2 separate regions of the Homo sapiens genome follow, and region 2 is linked to region 1. The links are contacts of gene promoters, found by promoter capture Hi-C in human tissues and cell types (Jung and others, 2019). All regions are on one chromosome and are shown on one strand. Each heading gives the region's core, a stretch centred on a gene start or on the middle of the fragment in contact. The rest is flanking DNA. Distances are from core to core; before and after follow the strand shown.

The links. Contacts are between HindIII fragments. The study calls those that stand out against the background at their distance.
Region 2: a contact is called between a fragment that was not itself captured here and the fragment with the promoter of RNASEH2C in region 1, in 1 of the 25 tissues and cell types used here (aorta).

Annotation. Positions count from the first base shown.
Region 1 is chr11:65,718,939-65,723,489 of GRCh38, reverse strand. It overlaps RNASEH2C (ribonuclease H2 subunit C), which reads left to right and starts at 2,692. Exons shown (of 4, transcript NM_032193.4): 1 at 2,692-2,903; 2 at 3,073-3,248; 3 at 3,326-3,445; 4 at 3,681-4,551. The coding sequence starts at 2,732. The coding sequence ends at 3,707. KAT5 (lysine acetyltransferase 5) reads right to left here. Exons shown (of 13, transcript NM_182710.3): 12 at 4,536-4,551; 13 at 3,886-4,443. The coding sequence ends at 4,309. RefSeq lists an enhancer at 2,547-2,616 and a silencer at 2,767-3,006. The HindIII fragment of the contact is 7,035 bases long and covers 1-4,551 here.
Region 2 is chr11:65,116,467-65,121,227 of GRCh38, reverse strand. FAU (FAU ubiquitin like and ribosomal protein S30 fusion) reads left to right here. Exons shown (of 5, transcript NM_001997.5): 4 at 192-247; 5 at 422-598. The coding sequence ends at 547. ZNHIT2 (zinc finger HIT-type containing 2) reads left to right here and starts at 3,527. Exons shown (of 1, transcript NM_014205.4): 1 at 3,527-4,761. The coding sequence starts at 3,575. RefSeq lists enhancers at 3,277-3,571, 3,564-4,107, 4,654-4,761. The HindIII fragment of the contact is 3,455 bases long and covers 1-2,977 here.

The DNA of each region.
Region 1 (4,551 bases), core at 1,443-3,942:
GGATCTTAAAATAAAATAAAAATCATTAGGAACAAAATAATTCAGTCGATATCTAGTTTAAAAATGGACATATAAAAATCAACAGGTTTGCTATAGACAAGGGGTCTGAAAACTATGGCCTGTGGTTCAAATCCAACCCCTTGTCTGTTTCTGCAAAGATTTACTGGAACACAACAACGCTCATTCATTTATGTATTGTCTATGACTGCTTTCATGCTATAACGGTGAAGTTGAGTAGCTGCGACAGAAGCCATAAAGTCCACAAAACCTAAAATATTTACTATTTGACCCCTTACAGAAAAAGTTTGCCAACCCCTGCTATAGATTAAAAAGAAAATCAGTTAGAAAATAAAATGAAAAAAATAAAAGCCCCAATTTTGGTTTTTAGAGAAAGGGTCTCCCTCCGTAACCCAGGCTGGTGTGCAGTGGTGCAATCGTGACTCGAACGGCAGCCTCAAACTCCTTGGCTTAAGTGATCTTCCCACCTTAGCTTCTTGAGTAGCTGGGACTACAGGCACATGCCACTGTGCCCCACTCATGTTTAAAAAAATTTTTTTCTTTGTAGGAACGGAGTCTTGCTATGTTTCCCAGGCCGGTCTCAAACTCCTGGCTTCAAGCAATCCTCCCCCATCTTGGCCTCCTAAAGCACTGGAATTACAGGTGTGAATCATCATGCCCAGCCCCTCAGTTCTTAATAGAAACAATTATTAATATAAGCTAAGAAGAAATAAACTTTACAATATGTATTAATAGCTATTATATATGAACAAAACCTCACAACTGTACAGATATCCAAGGAGATGTGAATAAATTGAATTATGTCTTTCCTGATAGAAAACTAAAGCAAGCCTTTTTCTAAATTAATCTGCCACTCTAGTGAAAGAGCACCAGGAATACATCTGCAGTTGAACAAATTGGGTATATTACTCCTGCACTCTGGGGAATTTCAATAAGAGGGTGCTAGAAAGGACTTATAGGAGGATTTGTGCCCATGTTCAGTGATTTCAGTCAGGGTTTAGGGAAGCCAGGCTTCTCTCTGGCTTGGATGCTGTCAGAGGTGGGGGTATGTCTATGACGGACTATCTTAATGAGTCTTGCCCAGAAGGAGAGAAGATTAGTTGGAGGCTAATGCTGTAATTGGTAAGGAAACAACAGTCACTCTCTTATGGGAGAAAGAGGGATGTTTCATGCCTTTTGTGGTTTGGACAGTGTTCACCTTTGCCAGCATTCAGATGTGACGATGGAGTGGTTCTGTTTCTGTCTTGCTCCCTCACGGTCACAGAGTGACCTTGTCCGATGCTGATGTTCTCTGAAATTGTTTATATTCAACAGAATACCAAGGCCAGCTCCCAGATGTGCAGGGATGTATAAATTAAACGCAATTTAAATCTAAATTTCCAGTTTTGTGTTTGTTTTATGTGAGAACTTGAAAAAATATATCTAAGTTGGGTGTCTGAACAAATAAACATTAGAGAAGAGCTGAGAAACCAAAGAGAGAAAATTGTGAAATCTAAAAGACTGAAAAGTGTTGATAAATTTGACTACAAAAAATTAGTCTTTGTCCTGGGTGCAGTGGCTCACGCCTGTAATTCCAGCGTGATTTGGGAGGCCAAGGTGGGCAGATCACTTGAGTCCAGGAGTTCAAGACCAGCCTGGGCAACATGGCAAAACTCCACCTCTACCAAAAATACAAAAATTAGCTGCGTGGTGGCGCAGGCCTGTGGTTCCAGCTACACAGGAAGCTGAGGATGGGGGATGGATTAAGCCTGGGAGGTCGAGGCTGCAGTGAGCCAATCAAACCACTGCACTCCAGCCTAGGCGAGTGAGACCTTGTCTAAAAGACCAAACAACCACAAAAATAAGTCCTTGTCCAGCAAAAATCACCTTTACACAGGTTTGCAAGACAGACCACAGATAAAACATTTTCAATGCATTTAAGAAAAGGGTTGATGTCCCTAATAAACTAAAAATGAATAACCTACCTACTAATCAATATAAAAAGAGTACTTTTCAGAATCGTTTTAGATTTTTACAACGACATGTGCCATTAAAAACAATAAAAGAAAAAAACCCGGCTGGGGGCGGTGTCTCACGCCTGTAATCCAAGTACTTCAGAAGGCCGAGGCTGGAGGATCGCCTGAGGTCAGGAGTTCGAGACCAGCCTGGCCAACATGGCGAAACCCAGTCTCTACTAAAAATACAAAAATTAGGTGGGCATGGTGGTGTGCGCCTGTAATCCCAGCTACTCCGGAGGCTGAGGCAGGAGAATCGCTTGAACCCGGGAGGCGGAGGTTGCAGTGAGCTGAGACCGTGCCTGGCACTCCAGCCTGGGCGACAAAACGAGACTCTGTCAAAAAAAAATAATAATAAATAAGAAAAAGAAAGAAAGAGGGAAGGACGGGAAGGAAGGGAAGGGAAGGGGGGAAGGAAGGGAGGCAGGGAGGAGGGGGAGGGGGGAGGGGGAAGGAGGGGGGAGGGGGAAGGAGAGGGGGAGAGGGGAGGGAGGAAAGAGGGGAGGGGGGAAGGAAGGAAGGAAAAAAACAAAACACAACTGGAAAACCCTAGGACTTGAACCCAGGGAAAGCGTTAGGGGGTAAGGGGACTACACTTCCCGTGAAGCTCCGCGGCGGCTTCCCGTGAGGCCCCGCGGAGGCTTCCTGAGAGGTCCTGCGCGCTTTCCGCGCCAGCTTCAGTGTCAGCTCGCGAGCCCTGGCGTCGCGTAGGAGGGAGGATGGAGAGCGGCGACGAAGCGGCCATCGAGAGGCACCGCGTCCACTTGCGCTCCGCCACATTGCGCGACGCCGTACCCGCCACACTGCATCTGCTGCCCTGCGAGGTTGCGGTGGACGGGCCCGCCCCGGTGGGGCGCTTCTTCACGCCCGCCATCCGCCAGGGCCCCGAGGGTGAGCCCTGCGGCCGGACTACGGCTCCCGGCAGCCCCCGCGCCGGCCTGCGCGCTTCTCATCGCCTGGGCTCCTGGGGATCGTGGTCCGTCCGGAGGTGGCGGGAGGGCAGCTCCGGGCTCGACCCAGCGTGGGTCCTGCCTGAGGCCCTTTGCGCCTCCCGCTCCAGGACTCGAAGTGTCGTTTCGGGGCCGCTGTCTACGGGGAGAGGAGGTGGCGGTGCCGCCTGGCCTCGTGGGATACGTGATGGTGACAGAAGAGAAGAAGGTGTCGATGGGGAAGCCAGACCCCTTGCGGGATTCCGGGACTGACGACCAAGAGGAGGAGCCGCTGGAGCGGGACTTCGTGAGCAAAGGGATAGGGTTGAAAGGGGGTGCGGGCGGGAGCTGTAGTCCCGATGCTGAGCCAGGCCCCTTCCCCAGGACCGCTTCATTGGAGCCACTGCCAACTTCAGCCGCTTCACCCTGTGGGGTCTGGAGACCATCCCTGGCCCGGATGCCAAAGTGCGTGGGGCCTTAACTTGGCCCAGCCTTGCGGCAGCGGTGAGTAGACGAGGAGTTCCGTCTTGCCCCCGGGTGGATGGGCTGGGGAGCACAATTGCGCAGACGGAGCCTGGAGGATTCTACTGGGTAGTGTGTGGGAAGCGTAGCTCCCTGACCACTCTTCCTAGCATGTCTAGAAGCGGTTATTCTGAACAGCTGGGTCCTTCCTCGGGTATGGGGGCCAGCTTGCCGCCCTGTCTTACAAGTCCAACAGTAGAGGCGACTCCTGTTGCAGATTCACGCACAGGTGCCCGAGGACTGAGAACCAGAGCTTGAAATTCAAAGCTGCGATCCCTTCACAGCAGTAAACCAGCTCTTTGGAACCGATTCCATCACCCCAATAAAGGAGCTCTTCACAGCACCTGTGAGTCTGGGCGCCTTAGAGCCCCTAAGCCAGCATGGGCCCTTTCCCCCTCCCCACCAAGAACTTTGCATGGCTCTGGCATATAGAAACAATTTATTGCCGGGGGCAATAGGGGTAAGAGAAGCCAGAAATTTTTGCAGCCAGCACCCACCCCACCCCCAACTTCTACTTTACAAAAGAAATTTTTACAATCACCAGCCCTCTGTACAGAGCTCCCCCATCCGGATCCCTTCTCACTGTACACAGCTGCCTGGCTCCCTCTGGTCCCTGCTTCAGAGGAGGCCTGGGCCTGTGGCCAGCTGACCTTGGAGTTGGTCTGAGCCCGGAGCTCGCCTTGGTGCTGGGCACCAGTGGGCCCCTGCCAGGCCTGTCCTCTCCTTTTTGAGCTGTCCTCAGCCCCATCTCCCTTAGAGTGCTTTGTGGGAGCTGCAGTGGGGGCGGGGTGGGCTATCAGCCCCAGTCCTGCTGCCGTCTTGGCACTGCAGTGGGCAGTGTCTGGTCACCACTTCCCCCTCTTGCTCCAGTCCTTGGGAGTGAAGTGCAGACACTTGGAGTCGATCCGCAGGAGCCGCTTGAGCATGGCCCGCTCATGGCCATCCACGATGTCCTCTGACAGTGTGAGGATGTACTGGCCCTGGGCAGAGGAGATGGGTTCAGCAGGTGGTCAGCCCACAGAGGACTGCACTCTGCATCCCACACACCTGTCTCCCCTGCCTGCCTCCCTACCTTGTAGTAGTTGATG
Region 2 (4,761 bases), core at 1-2,500, 600 kb after region 1:
GTGCTCTATAAAATTAGAAGCTGGAAGATCCTGAAATGAAACTTAAGATTTCAAGGTCAAATATCTGCAACTTTGTTCTCATTACCTATTGGGCGCAGCTTCTCTTTAAAGGCTTGAATTGAGAAAAGAGGGGTTCTGCTGGGTGGCACCTTCTTGCTCTTACCTGCTGGTGCCTTCCTTTCCCACTACAGGTAAAGTCCATGGTTCCCTGGCCCGTGCTGGAAAAGTGAGAGGTCAGACTCCTAAGGTGAGTGAGAGTATTAGTGGTCATGGTGTTAGGACTTTTTTTCCTTTCACAGCTAAACCAAGTCCCTGGGCTCTTACTCGGTTTGCCTTCTCCCTCCCTGGAGATGAGCCTGAGGGAAGGGATGCTAGGTGTGGAAGACAGGAACCAGGGCCTGATTAACCTTCCCTTCTCCAGGTGGCCAAACAGGAGAAGAAGAAGAAGAAGACAGGTCGGGCTAAGCGGCGGATGCAGTACAACCGGCGCTTTGTCAACGTTGTGCCCACCTTTGGCAAGAAGAAGGGCCCCAATGCCAACTCTTAAGTCTTTTGTAATTCTGGCTTTCTCTAATAAAAAAGCCACTTAGTTCAGTCATCGCATTGTTTCATCTTTACTTGCAAGGCCTCAGGGAGAGGTGTGCTTCTCGGGTTGGTGGTATGTCCCCTAGGAGAACAGTGAGGCAGAAAAGGCAGAAGCCTTTGGTATGGGGGGAAGAAATGGTAAACTACAAGAGAAATTTCCTGTGAAGAAACAGCTACAGATCCTGGGGGGCTTCAGATGTAAAATTGGGGTTATTCCCTATCCTAAGTAACTTGATCAGTCCCCCCAGGTCATTCTTTTTCATCTTCTAAACAGAGAAGGTAGCAGGAATCACTGTGGTGAGAGGTTTGTTATGGAGGCAGCAATAGAAGGGATGGGTGGGGGAAGAGGTTTGTATAGAAGGTGAACCTGGCCGTTCCCTGAACTTGGTACCAGCTGTGGCCTTAGAGTCCAGGGCAGGAATCTGGTCTGCCTTGGTTTTAGAAGTAAATATTATGTTGGGAGCATGGCCTCGTTTGTACCTCTGTGACTGCCTGGCCGGACTTGGTAACCTAATCACATCTGTGATTGGATATAGTGAGGTTTCAGTGTTCCCAAAAGTTGGGTTACCTCTGGGGCTGATTCAGGGTTCTCTTCTGGCAACTGAGCCTCCCAGCACTTCTGAACCCCACTTACTCATTCAGCTAAAGTTTCTGGACCTGCCAGTTCTTGAGAAATAGCATCCAACAGGGTAAAGCCCTTGGGCTGTGGACTTTGACTGCCTGAGTTTGGACCTTCTTTTTCTTCCTACTCCATTTACTGGGTGGCTGGCCTTTGAACTAACTACTAATTTAATCTCTGCCATCTCCAGGGCTGCTGTGAGGGTTAAAGGATGTAAATCAACATCTGGCTTACAGTGAGTGTGTGAATCTTGGCTATTTTTGTCTCTGTGGTGTTAAAGACATGGTTTCTGCCTTCCAGCAGTTTAGAAAGGGGGAGGATGTGGACAGATACAATAGCATCCCAGAGAGGGCCTCTTTTTTTGTTTTTCTTTTTTCTTTATTTTATTTTATTGAGACAGAGTCTCGCACTGTCGCCAGGCTGGAGTGCAGTGGCACAATCCGAGCTCACTGCAACCTCAGCCTCCCGGGTTCACGCCATTCTCCTGCCTCAGCCCCCTGAGTAGCTGGGACTACAGGCATGTGCCACCACGCCCAGCTAATTTTTGTATTTTTAGTAGACATGGGGTTTCCCCATGTTGGCCAGGATGGTCTCGATCTCTTGACCTCGTGATCGCCCACCTCGGCCTCCCAAAGTACTGGGATTACAGCCATGAGCCACAGTGCCCGGCCTTTTCTTTTTTGTTTTTGAGACAAGGTCTCTCTCATCCAGGCTGGAGTGCAGTTGCACAATCATGGCTCACTGCAGCCGCCAACTCCTGGGCCCAGGTGATCCTACTCAGCCTCCAAAGTAGCTGAGGACTACAGGCATGCACCGCCACACCTGGCTAATTTTTTGTACTTTTTTGTAGAGACAGGGTTTTGCTATGTTGCCCAGGCTGGTCTTGAACTGGGCTCAAGTGATCCGCCCACCTTGGCCTCCCAAAGTGCTGAGATTACAGGTGTCAGCCGCTGTGCCCAGCCGAGAGGTCCTGTTTAAATGACGTGAGTGAGACCTGAGATGAACCAGTCAAGTGATCAGGTAGGGGAATATTTCAAGCCTAGAGGACTGTGTGAAGATGGGGAAGAGGTGATGTCTAGGGCTGGGGGCGGGCAGATCCTGCAAGGCCTTGTCAGCCATAGAGAGGAGTTTGGGTTTGAGTCCAAGTGCAATGGAGGGTCGCAGAAGGGTTTTGAGTAACAGATGGATCTCATCTGACTTGTGATCTAATTTCTCTGGCAGGTTTTTCTGGAGGGCTGGCAAGAAAGTTAGGAAAAACACTTAATGTGTTGTCATCCACATGAGGGGTCAGGAAGCTTAGACCACCAGTAGTAGCAGGGATGCAAAGAACACTCACAGTTTGGTTCATCACACCCCCCACTCCACCACAAGAGTGAGCTCTATTAGAACAGGGACCCCCGGCTCCCTTTGATGTGCATTGTGTTCTTGGCACCTAGAATGGGGCCTGCACTTAATAAGATGGATGAATAGTGGTATTTAATGAGAAGATACTTAATGAAAAGAAGAGGCAGTTTTGGAGGAAAAAAATCATAGGAGCTCAGATATTTCTTAAATGCTGCTTTCTATTTATCTTTTTGAGGTGGAGTTTCTCTCTGTGGCCCAGGCTCGCAGGCTGGAGAGCGGTGGCGCGATCTCGGCTAACTGCAGCCTCCACCTCCCGGGTTCAAGCGATTCCCCTGCCTCAGCCTCAGGAGTAGCTGGGACTACAAGCACCCGTCCCCCACGCCCGGCTAATTTTGTATTCTTAGTAGAGACGGGGTTTCTCCATGTTGGTCAGGCTGGTCTCAAACTCCTGACCTCAGGTCATCTGCCCGCCTCGGCCTCCCAAAATGCTGGGATTACCGGCGTGACCCACCGTACCTGGCCCTAACTGTCCTTTTATTTGTCTGTGTCCCCTAGTGCATTTTATTTGTCTGTGTCCAGCGCAGGGATGCATCGCCTCCCGTAGGCTTGGCACAATTAGTGGCCCAGAGTAGGTGCCTAGTAAAGATGGATTTATGCCACAGCACATTGTAGTGCTAAAAAGAGGGTTTTCTCTTTAGATGATCGGGCCACGTTTTGGTGTGACCACTAGGGGGAGACGTGGCACCGGCGAAGCGCTCGCCAGACCCATTTTTTCGCTCCTTGCGTCATCGCATAGGGCGGGGCTCGTACCTGACGCCCGGCTTCTGGGCCTGCTCTCGCCCTACTAGGGAAAGGGGTGGGGCTTGGCTTTCGGGCGTGGGCGGAAATTGCCGAGAATCCTCGGAAGCTTTGCGAAAACACAGCGCGCCGTCGGCCGCGCTGCGAACCGGAAGTAATCGAAGAAGCCCCGGAAGTTTCGAACTACCACCGGCGTGCGTTCGCAGGTAGATCGCGGTGCCAGTTGCCATGGAGCCGGCCGGGCCCTGTGGCTTCTGCCCGGCGGGGGAGGTCCAGCCAGCGCGTTACACCTGCCCTCGCTGTAATGCGCCCTACTGCTCGCTGCGCTGCTACCGGACGCATGGCACCTGCGCAGAAAACTTCTACCGTGACCAGGTGCTGGGAGAGCTCCGCGGTTGCAGCGCTCCTCCCAGCCGCCTAGCAAGCGCCCTACGCCGGCTGCGTCAGCAACGCGAGACCGAGGACGAGCCTGGGGAAGCAGGCCTCAGCTCCGGCCCGGCGCCCGGCGGCCTATCGGGACTCTGGGAGCGGCTGGCGCCGGGCGAAAAAGCTGCCTTCGAGCGGCTGCTGAGCCGCGGTGAGGCCGGGCGGCTGCTGCCTCCATGGCGGCCGTGGTGGTGGAACCGCGGAGCCGGACCGCAGCTTCTGGAGGAGCTGGATAATGCCCCGGGTAGTGACGCCGCGGAGCTGGAGCTCGCCCCTGCGAGGACCCCGCCGGATTCTGTGAAAGATGCCTCCGCCGCGGAGCCCGCGGCCGCCGAGCGGGTTCTTGGAGATGTCCCGGGGGCCTGCACGCCCGTCGTACCCACCCGCATCCCCGCGATAGTCAGCCTGAGCCGCGGCCCAGTCTCGCCGCTCGTGCGCTTCCAGCTGCCCAATGTGCTGTTCGCCTACGCGCATACTCTCGCCCTGTATCACGGCGGTGACGACGCGCTGCTCTCTGACTTCTGTGCCACACTGCTCGGCGTTTCCGGAGCCCTGGGTGCCCAGCAAGTCTTCGCCTCTGCGGAAGAAGCCCTGCAGGCGGCAGCCCACGTGCTGGAAGCAGGCGAGCACCCGCCGGGGCCCCTGGGCACACGAGGGGCTATGCACGAGGTCGCCCGCATCCTGCTGGGCGAGGGCCCGACCAACCAGAAAGGCTACACGCTGGCAGCACTGGGGGACCTGGCACAGACCCTGGGCCGTGCCCGGAAACAGGCCGTGGCTAGAGAAGAGCGAGATCATCTTTACCGGGCCCGGAAAAAGTGCCAGTTCCTCCTGGCCTGGACCAACGAAAATGAGGCGGCCCTCACACCCCTGGCCCTAGACTGCGCCAGGGCTCACCAAGCCCATGCTGTGGTAGCCGAGGAGGTGGCCGCCCTCACTGGGGAGCTGGAGCGGCTTTGGGGAGGCCCCGTGCCACCTGCCCCAAGAAC